3 separate regions of the Homo sapiens genome follow, and regions 2 and 3 are each linked to region 1. Evidence: promoter capture Hi-C in 16 types of primary human blood cells and fetal thymus (Javierre and others, 2016). All regions are on one chromosome and are shown on one strand. The core of a region is centred on a gene start or on the middle of the fragment in contact, and the rest is flanking DNA. Distances in the headings are between cores, read along the strand shown. Region 1 holds the start of LRRC17 (leucine rich repeat containing 17). Region 2 overlaps FBXL13 (F-box and leucine rich repeat protein 13). Region 3 overlaps FBXL13 (F-box and leucine rich repeat protein 13).

Region 1 (3,763 bases), core at 796-3,295:
CCCACCATGTTGCCTAGGCTGGTCTTGAACTCCTGGCCTCAAGTAATCCTTCTGCCTCAGCCTCCCAAAATGCCAGGACTACAGGCATGAGCCACCGCGCCCAGCCTAAAAGCATACAAAGGTGTTTTTTCTCTGTAGATAGTTGTTAACTTGGTGTCCTTGGGTGGGGAACAATGGGTGGAGCCTTCTGTTCCACCATCTTGCTTCACCTCCTCCAATTATGTGTGTTTTGTATGCATATCTGGGCAGTAGGTCATAGATTTGAAGCCTCTCATTTCAACTTTACTGTGTCTGAGAATATTTATCCTTAGGACACTTGTGTATACATTTGTGTGTTGTTGCTACAATAATTGCCTCATGGTAACTGAGAAATTGATAAGAAGAAGGAGGTAAGTCATACCATGAGGAGGGTTTAAGCACAACGGCGAGTTAGAAAAGTACTGAAGGATTTATAGTTAAGGGGCAGGCTTATCAGTGGGATATGTCAAGCACATTAAGTTGTTCCTGAGTTTGCAAATATTTTTCTCTGTGATTGGGCCATTGGCATTTGCTAATTGGTGCCCATCAAAGTTAGGCTTCTACCCACCCACAGGAACTGAGAGATATCTTCTTTGATGATTATATATCAAAGGGATAGATCCCAGGTCCTTGAGGAAGACTTTCCTGAGTTGTAAAACTGTCAAGAAGCTTTTGTTAAAAAGACATCTCAAAGTAGGCAGAGAAAGAACTTATAATTCCAAGTTTTCTAAAACAAATGCTCTAAGAAACAAGAAAACAAGAAGTCAGGGCCTAGAGTCAGTAAGAAGCTGGTCTAAAATTCAGTCATGCTGAGGAGAACGTCAATGCCATCTCAGTCATAAAGTTATGGTAGATGTTGATGTTTAAAAAGCTACACATCAGCAGATCAGTTTTAAACAAATATGAATGTTAGATGTTTACAGCCCTAACTTAGAATCCTCCCCTCCTTGCCCCAACTCCCTCCAGACCACCCAGGGCATCAGGATACCACAAGATGTCAGTGGAGGTGACTAGGTAAGAATTCTATCCATTCAAGAACCCTGGGGGAGAAACCCATGCTGCCCCTGTATTTCCCACTATCCCAGGGAACTCTGCCTGCCCCAGTATCTAGCAACAGATGCTTAAAACTGTACTAGTACCATGTGCTTTCATCAGCTGTGCAAACTTGGGCAACTTATTCAACCACCCTGAGCCTTGGTCTCTTCATTTGTAAATAAGCATAGTAAATACATACCACCACAGCACTGTATCAGAAGTAAATCTGATCTGTGTATAGCACTCAACACAATGCTTGGCATATGGTAATGACTCAAGAAATGATAACTATCAATATTTCAGCCAGTTCTCACCTATGCTATTATTCTCATAGAATAATGAACATACTATGACACCAAATTAATAAAATACACAGAGAGGCAGAAGAAAATAAGTTAAAAGAATTATGGCTTAAATCTTTTGAAATTAAAGCAGAAGAAACTATCAATGAGGCAGTAGCTACATCCAAAGCGCCATGCCCTATCCTCTGCAACTTGATCCAATTTTCTGCCCAACTTTCCAAGTCCTGTTCCCTCAAACTTAAAATATTTTCCCACGCAGATCTCAAATCTTCATGTTATTCAGCCCAACGGTGTAATGCAATTTTTTAAATTATGAGTTTTTGTTGTATTTTCTTTTCCTATTTATCACTTATAGCATTTTACCCCCCCCCCCCCAAAAAAAAACCCATGTGGGAGTTAATTGACTTTTCAGGAATCCCATGCAAAATTCTCCCTCAAAACATTCTCTTTGTTTGTGTCTTGGTAGCAACTCCAGAGTTTTCAGGACTTGGACTCTGCTTTAGACTTGTGCTCAGACTGTCTCCACAAAAGTGGTCCGTTTCCTCATCCAATGAGCTCTGCCTGTTTGTCTGTGTGACACTCCAGTGGAAGGAAGCCAAGAGCCTATAATAGCGATCCTGGGGAAAATTTCAGCAGCTGGGGCCATGTAATTTAAAACCTCTGAAAAGTGTGCTGCGGTCCGTGCACAGCATTAGTATAACGTGAGGGCTGAATGCAGCCCATTCTCTGGAGAACTTCCTCACACACCGCAGCAAAGAGAAGACTGAAAGACAAACCTGGGTGCAGCCAGAGAGGTCCAGATAGATGAGCTTGTGGCATCCATTCCCCAAGTTCAGGTACTGTAAGCCTTTGTCTGTGAACCGTCTGCAATAAGCCAAACTAAGATTCTGTAAGTTGTGGAAGTGCCTGAAAAGACAAAAGAGAGGAAGGAAAGTATTATACTTCCGTTGTTCTCTCAAATCTTTCTTAAGCCACTATGACAAAGAAAACTGTAAATTCAACTCTTCTTCTTGCAGATGTTCAACATTTAACTTTACTGTTAACTCTCTACCTGTTAATTAAAGGAGACTACAGTGTTATATAAGGTAACACACAATACATTTAATACCTTGTAATACATTTCAAGTGAAAGTATTAATAGTTCAATAATATTTGCCTAGATATTTAAGAAAGTTGACTGGGATAAAGCTTTTTTGGTGTGTGTGAGGTGGGGGAGGCAATCATATTGTTTGGAAGTGAAACCAAATTTGCAGAGTGTATTGTTGCTTTTAGGTTTTATCTCTGGAGTACCAAAATAATGTGCAAAATATATAAAAGGACAAATCCTTTGTAAACATTTAAATGGAGACTGTTACAGGAGAGTGAGGATTTGGGACAGAAGGCAAAACTGAATATGACCATGCTCTTAAAATAGATCTGATAAGCAAATGAGTTTAAAAAATAGGTTTAAATATGCATGAGTTTGTGACAGTTTCATTATTATAGTTAAAGAAAGACTAATTGATATGCAGAGTTTAAGCATGGATTAAGAAGACCAGTTTGCAAATAAGCAGGCAACACATGAGAAGAATCAAAAGCAACATCAGAGACTATAAATCTCGCTGGAGTTGAAACAGATTAAATATGGTATTACCACAATGACCAAAATGACAGCTTCCAGAAAAAAGTAGGGTAGTTAGGATGAGCCTGTACTACCATACGAGGGCTCGCAGTTTGAGGACACTCCGTGGACAATTTCCCAAGCCCTCCAAAGCCTGGAACTTTTTTTTGAGACGAAGTTTCGCTCTTGTTGCCCAGCTGGAGTACAATGGTGAGATCTTGGCTCACTGCAACCTCCTCCCCACTCCCCCAACCCCTGGTTCAAGCGATTCTCCTGCCTCAGCCTCCCAAGTGGCTGGGATTACAGGCGCGTGCCAACATGTCCAGCTAATTTTTGTATTTTTAGTAGAGACAGGGTTTCACCATGTTGGCCAGGCTGGCCTCGAACTCCTGACCTCAGGTGATCCACCCGCCTTGGCCTCCCAAAGTGCTCGGAACAGGCATGAGCCACCGTGCCCAGAAAGCCTGGCACTTTTTAAGAGGTCAAGGATTCCCACTACTATCTGCTCTTCTAATGGAATTAGCAATCATGCTCTTAGTTTGTGATATGCAACAGCTTAATAGCAAATTAGAAAGCAAAAAGAATGAAAAGTGAGGAGAAAATGCTTCTCTGCCTCTCAAAATCACACAGGTGAATAAAGTTTACCTCCCATAAATGGGAAATAAGATATACAAGCACTGACCATTAATCAGATTTTGAAAAACACATCTATATGATATAATGATTTGCATGCCATAGCGAATTACTTGATTCAGAACACACATCCCGATCTGGGAAGGGCTGTGTACGTGAGATTCGACAGAGCGAG
Region 2 (3,763 bases), core at 357-2,856, 100 kb before region 1:
TGGAAGAATATATACTTTTAAAGGGCTCACTTGATTAGGTCAGGCCCACCCAGGATAACCTTTGTTTTGCCATATAATGTAACATTCATAGGAGTGATGGCCCATCACATTCAGTTTTCACTCCCACTCAAGGAAAGGAGATTATACAAAGGCATCCATCATGTGGGGACAATTAGCTTAGAATTCTTTATAATGTAGCTCTCACATGACAGGTTTTCTACTTAGTACCTTTTATGGCATCAATGTAAATTTAAGCTGTAAATAAAAAACAAATATGTGAAGCAGTTGCTACTGATTCTTAATATCTTTTGTGTAACTTAAGATATAGCTAATTAGGAAAAAAGAAACAGCTATTTTATAGCCTGATGTATGAAGATAGATTTTTATAAAGGTATACTGTATAAAGATATTTTATGAATTCCATTTCTTTCAAACATCTCTATTCCTGGAACATTTAAATTATATAATACTGGCCAGGCACAGTGGCTCATGACTGTAATCCCAGCAGTTTGGAGGCCAAGGTGGATGGATCACTTGAGGTCAGGAGTTTGAGACCAGCCTGGCTAACATGGTAAAACCCCATCTCTACAAGAAATACAAAAAAAAGAAAATTAGCTGGGTATGGTGGCTCATCCCTGTAATCCCAGCTATTTGGGAGCCTGAGGCAGGAGAATCGCTTGAACCTGGGAGGCAGAGGTTGCAGTAAGCCGAGATCACACCACTTTACTCCAGCCTGGACAACAGAGTGAAACTCCGTCTCAAAAAAATTAATTAAAATAAACAAATAAGTTATATAATACTATAACTATACTATAAGACCAGACCTATCTCTTGGTGATGTAGTTTGGATATCTGTCCCCCAAAATCTCATGATGAAATGTAATCCCCAGTGTTGGAGGTGGGGCCTGATTGGATCATGTGGGCAGATTTCTCATTAATTGTTACCACCACCTTCTTGGTTCTGTCCTCATGATAGTGAGTTCTTGCAAGATCTGACTGTTTAAAAGTGTGGGTATCTTCCCCGTCTCTCTCTTGCTCCTGCTCTTGCCATGTGATGTGCCTGCTCCCACTTTGCCTTCTGCCATGAGTAAAAGCTCCCTAAGGCCTCCCCAGAAGCCAAGCAGAGAGGCCCGTGCGATGCTTTCACAGCCTGCAGAACCAATTAAACCTCGTGAGTCAATTAAACCTCTTTTCTTTAGAAATCACCCAGCTTCAGGTATTCCTTTATAGCAAAACAAGAATGGCCTAAATCGCTTGGATTATATTTTTTATGATTAAGATAAGTCAGTTCTTTTTTTGTTTGTTTTTTGAGACAGGGTCTTGCTCTGCCACTCAGGCTGGAGTGCAGTGGCACAATCTTGGCTCACCGCAACCTCTGCCTCCGAGGTTCAAGCGATTCCCATGCCTCAGCCACCACAGTAGCTAGCATTACAGGTGCACGCCACCATGCCCAGCTAAGTTTTGTATTTTTACTAGAGATGGGTTTCACCATGTTGGCCAGGCTGGTCTTGAACTCCTGGCCTCATGTGATCTGCCTGCCTCAGCCTCCCAAAGTGCTGGGATTACAGGTGTGAGCCACTGCACCGGGCCAGGAGAAGTCCATTCTTAAACACTAATTTTTAATAAACCTTTCCAAATATTATTATTTATGATGATCTTTTTCTTTTTTTCAGACGAGGTCTCACTCTGTTGCCCAGGCTGGAGTGCAGTGGCATGATCATAGCTCATTGAAGCCTTAAACTCCTGGCCTCAGGCATCCTCCTGCCTCAGCCTCCTGAGTTGCTGGGATTACAGGCAGGTGCCACCATGCTCTAATTTTTAAATTTTTTATAGAGATGGGTTTTACTATGTTCATCAGGTCTCGAACTCCTGGCCTCCAGTTGTCCTTCTGCCTTGGCCTCCCAAAGTGCTGTGATTATAGGCATGAACCACTGTGCCCAGCCTCCTTTTCATTAATTTTCCATTTCTTTAGAGTTCTGTTTTTAACTTCTTATTTATGAAACAAAAGTCAGCTTTGTAGGATATCTCAGAGTCTCCTTTTAGTTCACCCTTCATGAAATCAGAATGTATACAAGTCTGAAAGATACTCACACATTGGTATATTTGGTATGGTTGTGGTGTGTTATACTATTAAGTAGAGGAAACTGTGTAGCAGTGAGGCAGTTTTGATAATCTTTTTTCACCCTCATGCAATTACATAAACATTTTCATGACTAAAAATAAATTAGCTAACCACAGCCAGAAAAGTCATAAGCATAACAGCAGTCAACTATATTTAAAGCTACTAATGGAATTGTACATATTTGGATCACATTGTTAAGTCCCAGACAAAAAGAAAAAGCTGCCATAATTTACTCTCTTGGACACAGACCTATGAATATGAAATACGTAAGGGCTAAAGACCTAACTAATATCTTTGATATTTTGAGTAGTTTGCATCGAAAACTTAAAAGATTTCTCTACCTGTATCCCTATTCTTGGTCTCCTTTCATAGCTCACTTTTTCTACTCCTTTTCTTCATTTATGTAGCTGTAAAATTTGTCTCCCCAGAATGAATGAATGTGTCTTCTGTTCTTGTTTAAGAAAGGATGTTACTCAAAGAGCTTTGGAGCAAGCTCTGAATGTAAAGCAACCTGCTAGGTTTCTGGAGAACATAACAGGGTGTGTTTCTTACCGGGGTCTAACCAGTGCAGGTGTCATTCCTTTAGAAAGCAATTGCCTCTTTTATAAGTTCCACCAGTTGTGTGCATGAAGCACTTAGGGATCAGATTTTTGAAAACATCTTTAATGCAGCTGCCAGAAATTTCCAAATTTAGGTTAAAATCATACTCTTATGTCATCTTATGTCTCTTGGCTATGGTCTAAAACTTCCCACTCAAATGATTCTGTTGCCTGTGTGCCCACTCCTAGGAACCTTTCCACAGCTAAGTAATATTACCTTATTTCAAAAACTTTGCAAGTCAACCTCAGTGGGGGAGAATTACTAAAAGCATTTAGCTAATACAAGGTAGCCTATAATAATACTTTGTACAATCTTTTTAAAACTTTTCAAAATAACGATGCTTTATCTTAAGTTTTTAATCCTTATTTGAAACTTGTGGGATACAAAAAGAGAATTAACTCCACGTGAGAGATAAGTAATTGAGGAAATAGAAAGGTTAAAAGGCTGATCTGATATTGCTGACAAGGCTTGTTTGCGGCAGTCAGAACAGAGTTGTGTTTTCTCTTGGACTGTGTCAACATCAGTGTTACATAATATCAAATAATGGTAAAAACCCACAGATGTGCTCACTTCGGCAGCACATATACTAAAACCTACGGATTAAAGCTTATTAAAAACTAATATGTAGATATGCAATTAATAACCCATACTTCCTAGCATAAAATTGAGGGAGCATCTTTTTTGGCATAGCATAGTTTAAGAATTCCTCCGTTGTGCAAATTTGATTAAAGAGATGTCTTTCTGAGACATTGCAGGGACATTCTTTCTATTCAGATAGTTCTTGTTTCTATTTAATTTGCCCCTGACTAAGTCAAATGTTGAGATAAGTACAGAGTTAATTGGCGGCATTTAGTTCTCTTTTGTTGTTAAATGTCTGGAAACCACAGAAAAGCCACATTTCCTTTGAAAATATTAATATATGTCTGTATTCTTTATAAAGCCTTAAAAAGCGTTACAGATCCTTAAAGTTATTCCCCTGGCTCAAACTCTTAGTTTGACATATGGCCATCTCTGCTTTCTTTTTCCTTTCTAAAGAAAAAT
Region 3 (3,763 bases), core at 368-2,867, 82 kb before region 1:
TTGCAAGGAAAAGCCGGCCTTTCTGGGGATAGATAAGGTGACCATTCAAAATTCACCTGTGGACTTTTGGGAAACCTGGCACAGAATGATGAGCCAGACACCAATGTGTTTTACGGCTCATCAAAATCAACATAAGTGGAATATGTTAGGTTGGACCACAGCCTTATGAATTCAGGGTGAGTTGAGGAGTATTCAGATTGGTCCAGATGATGGTCCCCACATCTTCTCAATCAGGATACTCATCTGACCCACAGTCTGACCAGAACAATTCAGATGGTAAAGCTAAATCTTTCTACTCCTTTGTATCAGCGTTCTAAAATAATTGACTCTTCCTTCTTCCTCTTTCTCCCTCTAAACCTTTGATACAGAGTGATGCATTTCTTGCATATTTGTTTAACATCCCCCTTAGCTTCTGGGCTGCAAGACAATAGCCATGCACAGTTTACAGAAGGAATTCCCTCAGCCTTCATAACAAAAAACAAAAAACCAAAGCAAACAAACAAACAAACAAAATCCTCTGCCCTATTTTCTGTTTGCACTGGAGCCTTTTCTTTTCTCATTCTCCTACTTTCTGCTTTAGAGCCACTAAGAAACCCAGTCTCCATCTGTGCCTGCTTTATAGCCAGGGCAGTTCTCACTTCTCACTAAGCCATGTGTTGCCCATATGTCTGTGTGCTATGAACGCAAGAATCTCTGTGAACTATCACTGTTTAAGTTGCAGAGAGTCAGTTGGTCAGCGCTTCTAGTGTTCTGGGTCCCTTGACCCAGCTCACTAATAGAACCAGATGATGCTGACCAGAAAGACATCTGGTTCCCCTAGTTCTAAACAAGTATATTATTAAACAAAAATAATTTTGCTGTGAACTTTTTGGCTTAGTTTTGTCACGGTTTACCACATCTTTTTCCCTGCTGCCTCCTCCTTTTTATTGCAGCACAATTAGCTAACCATACAAACCAAACAACATAGAAGCTGAACTTCTAGATTAAATAAAGCGTAGGGCATCTTGAGAGTTGGTGTGATGCTGTAGTAAACAAAAGCCTTCAGTGTGTACAATAGAAGAGAACACGATTGTTAATAACCTTGTAATTTCTGAGGATTTTCAAAAAAATTTCTTAGTTTTCTTCCTTCTTCATATTTTGCTAACTCCAAGTTTTTCCTGTTAATTTGTGTTGATCAATATCTTCCACTTTAGAGACTTTCCTCTTATGTCTGGTAATCCTTTTGTTCACGATTAAGAGTGGAGGACTAAAAACTAATCGGAAGGTCAGAGTACACGCATCTCTATTGTAAGCTTCAATGAAGGATGATCTACGTGTGTTATTTGTTGGGAACCACCCCTGTCAGTCATTTTAGGTCTTTCATCTTGGGCTAGTCAGGGTTCCCAGAGAAGAGGCTACCAATCTCCCACCTGGAGAAGAAGATCTGGCAGCCAAGTTCTTGATGCTCAGTTGGAAAAAGTGCTTGAATATCTCTGCACTCAGCATTGAGTCACTTAGTTAGCCTAGCAACCCTCTGTTTTAGTATCTCTAGAGTAGTGGGTAATTCAAGAACAATTTTGGCCCTCACCTCCACCAGAGAACATGTGGTAAGGTCTGGAGGGATGGGATCTTATGTGCTACTGACATATAGTGAGTAGAGGGCAGGCATGCTGTTAAACATCTACAGTGCCCGGGACACACACACACACACACACACACACACACACACACACCCCACTACAGAGAGTTATCTTGTCCAAAATATGAATAGTGTCAGGGATGAAGAACCAGAATTTAGGAAATAAATCTCCAGGCTTCTGTTTGGGGTGGGGAGAGACAGTTGCCCAGATTTATGGAGTAGGGGCTGGAATCTAGAGATCTATCTACTTCTTAAGAATCTCTAACTCAGTCTCCCTTATTTTCATCCCCACTCTTAACCCAGTTCCAAAGGTACACGGTGCTCCCAAGCTTGAAGATTGTGGTGTAAATCAGATTTTTTTTTCCAGCTTTCTCTACTGTTGGCTTAGGATTCAAAGCAGTCTCTGGTCTGCTAAATTAGTCCATCTATTTTCAAGCTTCCAAATTTTTGTTGCTCTTATCTCCTCTCCTGTTTTCCTTATCCATATGGGCCCTCACTCTTCATCTCTAGTTCTGGTAGCGTTTCAAGAGGAACAAAATTATATGTGTATATTCAGTCTACTATTATTAATCCAGAACCTGAGATCTCTAGTTCTTTACATGGAGATATGTCCATAGTATATTAAAAAGTAGGTTACAATGTATTTTGGAAAGTATGATTCTATTATTTTAAAAAACAAGGCAAAACACAAACTTTCTGTAACTATTTCTAATCTTTTTGTGCATAGAAAAAAATCTAGAAGAATAAAATACCAGCGATGGTTATGTCCAGGTGGTGACAGGACAATGGATATTTACTTTCTCCCTTAAGCTTTTATATGTAGTCCAAATTTTTCATAATGAGTACTTACTTCATTTATATACAGAGGTCCCAGAAAAATTATAAAACACTTGAAAATAACACAAAAGATGATGGTATGTCCTTGGAGTGTCAAACTGGAACACTGTTTAACAGGCCTACCTGGAGAATTCTATAGGAAATCATGCCTTTGTTTGACATACCATTTACTGTCCACTAAGGCCCTAGCTCAATGAAGTTATATGTTGTTATATTTTTGTCCAGGAAAGATGCAAATTATTTGTATCTGGTATAAACTGTAACCCCAAGGTTATGGATTTAATAACTTGTAAAACACTTTTAGATCTAACCTAACACTCTTAATGCAACATTCTTTCATCAGTTCCTACAAATACTAAGTTCATTCAAATGCTCTACGCACTGGCTTTGTCATTTTGTTGGTTCTCTCATTAGTGAATTAAAGAAATCTTTGACACATGTTTATATTTGTATGAGAATTATGTTTTTAACTTTTGGAAAATTCTACTTTGACACCAGTGGAATCATAAGCTATTTCCAATTTGAGGATAGAAGAAAAAAATCCAATGAATACCTCAACCATGGCAAAGAGAACATATTCTGAGTCCAGCCCTGATCGCTGTCCTGCCTTGTCCCTTGGCAGTGCTTAAATTGGATGTGTTTGAGCCCTGACTCCTGCACATACCTTTGGACAGCCAGCAATGCTGAGAGATGTGAGGTTAATGCAGTAAATGGCCAGTGCTTTGATAATCATATCTGACAGCTGGGAGCAATAAGAGACATCCAAATGTTCCAAGATCAGTGAGCTTTTGCAGAATGCCTGCAAAAAATTCCAAGGTCAAATTTTTTCTTTTCTTTAGTCATCTAGAACTGTCTTACTTATAGTAGCTTATTAAATGTACATTTCAGTCCCTGAAATACAGATGTTAGATCTTGATGCCCCCAAAAAATAATTTAAAAAACCCATGTTACATCCAACATCTGTTTATAGCAAAAGATATTCACAAAGCAGCTTAACAGCTTAGTGATATTCAAATGCCTGCTAACAAAATTTGGTTTTCTTGAAGTTAGGTCTAATGAAGTTTGACTCATATGGTCAGTAATGAGTAGAAGAAAAGAAATCTGAGGGTAAGATTATATGGCAGACACTCCAAGATTGACAGTGGAATGTAATGGAAAGAACAGATTCTTTGGAATCAGACAGACCCGAGTTTTGCTTTCGTTTCCACCATTTATTACCTCTTAAATCTTAGCAAGTTACTATCTTTCTGAGCCTGTTTCCTTTTTTTTTTTTTTTTTGAGAGTCTTCCTCTGTTGCCCAGGCTTGGA

What was found. The method cuts DNA at HindIII sites, captures the fragments that hold promoters and counts their contacts. A CHiCAGO score of 5 or more calls a contact.
Region 2: a contact is called between a fragment that was not itself captured here and the fragment with the promoter of LRRC17 in region 1, in 5 of 17 cell types (megakaryocytes, M2 macrophages, M0 macrophages and 2 more). The highest score is 9.4, in megakaryocytes.
Region 3: a contact is called between a fragment that was not itself captured here and the fragment with the promoter of LRRC17 in region 1, in 3 of 17 cell types (M2 macrophages, megakaryocytes and M0 macrophages). The highest score is 6.6, in M2 macrophages.

Annotation. Positions count from the first base shown.
Region 1 is chr7:102,910,955-102,914,717 of GRCh38, forward strand. LRRC17 (leucine rich repeat containing 17) reads left to right here and starts at 2,046. Exons shown (of 4, transcript NM_001031692.3): 1 at 2,046-2,191. FBXL13 (F-box and leucine rich repeat protein 13) reads right to left here. Exons shown (of 21, transcript NM_001394494.2): 12 at 2,132-2,261. The HindIII fragment of the contact is 1,856 bases long and covers 686-2,541 here.
Region 2 is chr7:102,808,942-102,812,704 of GRCh38, forward strand. It overlaps FBXL13 (F-box and leucine rich repeat protein 13), which reads right to left. Exons shown (of 21, transcript NM_001394494.2): 21 at 2,248-3,763. It overlaps FAM185A (family with sequence similarity 185 member A), which reads left to right. Exons shown (of 8, transcript NM_001145268.2): 8 at 1-284. Among named protein-coding and RNA genes, the nearest start is that of FAM185A, 62 kb to the left of the region's middle. The HindIII fragment of the contact is 3,439 bases long and covers 1-3,326 here.
Region 3 is chr7:102,829,721-102,833,483 of GRCh38, forward strand. It overlaps FBXL13 (F-box and leucine rich repeat protein 13), which reads right to left. Exons shown (of 21, transcript NM_001394494.2): 19 at 3,120-3,254. It also overlaps a transcript of FAM185A not described here. Among named protein-coding and RNA genes, the nearest start is that of LRRC17, 81 kb to the right of the region's middle. The HindIII fragment of the contact is 655 bases long and covers 1,291-1,945 here.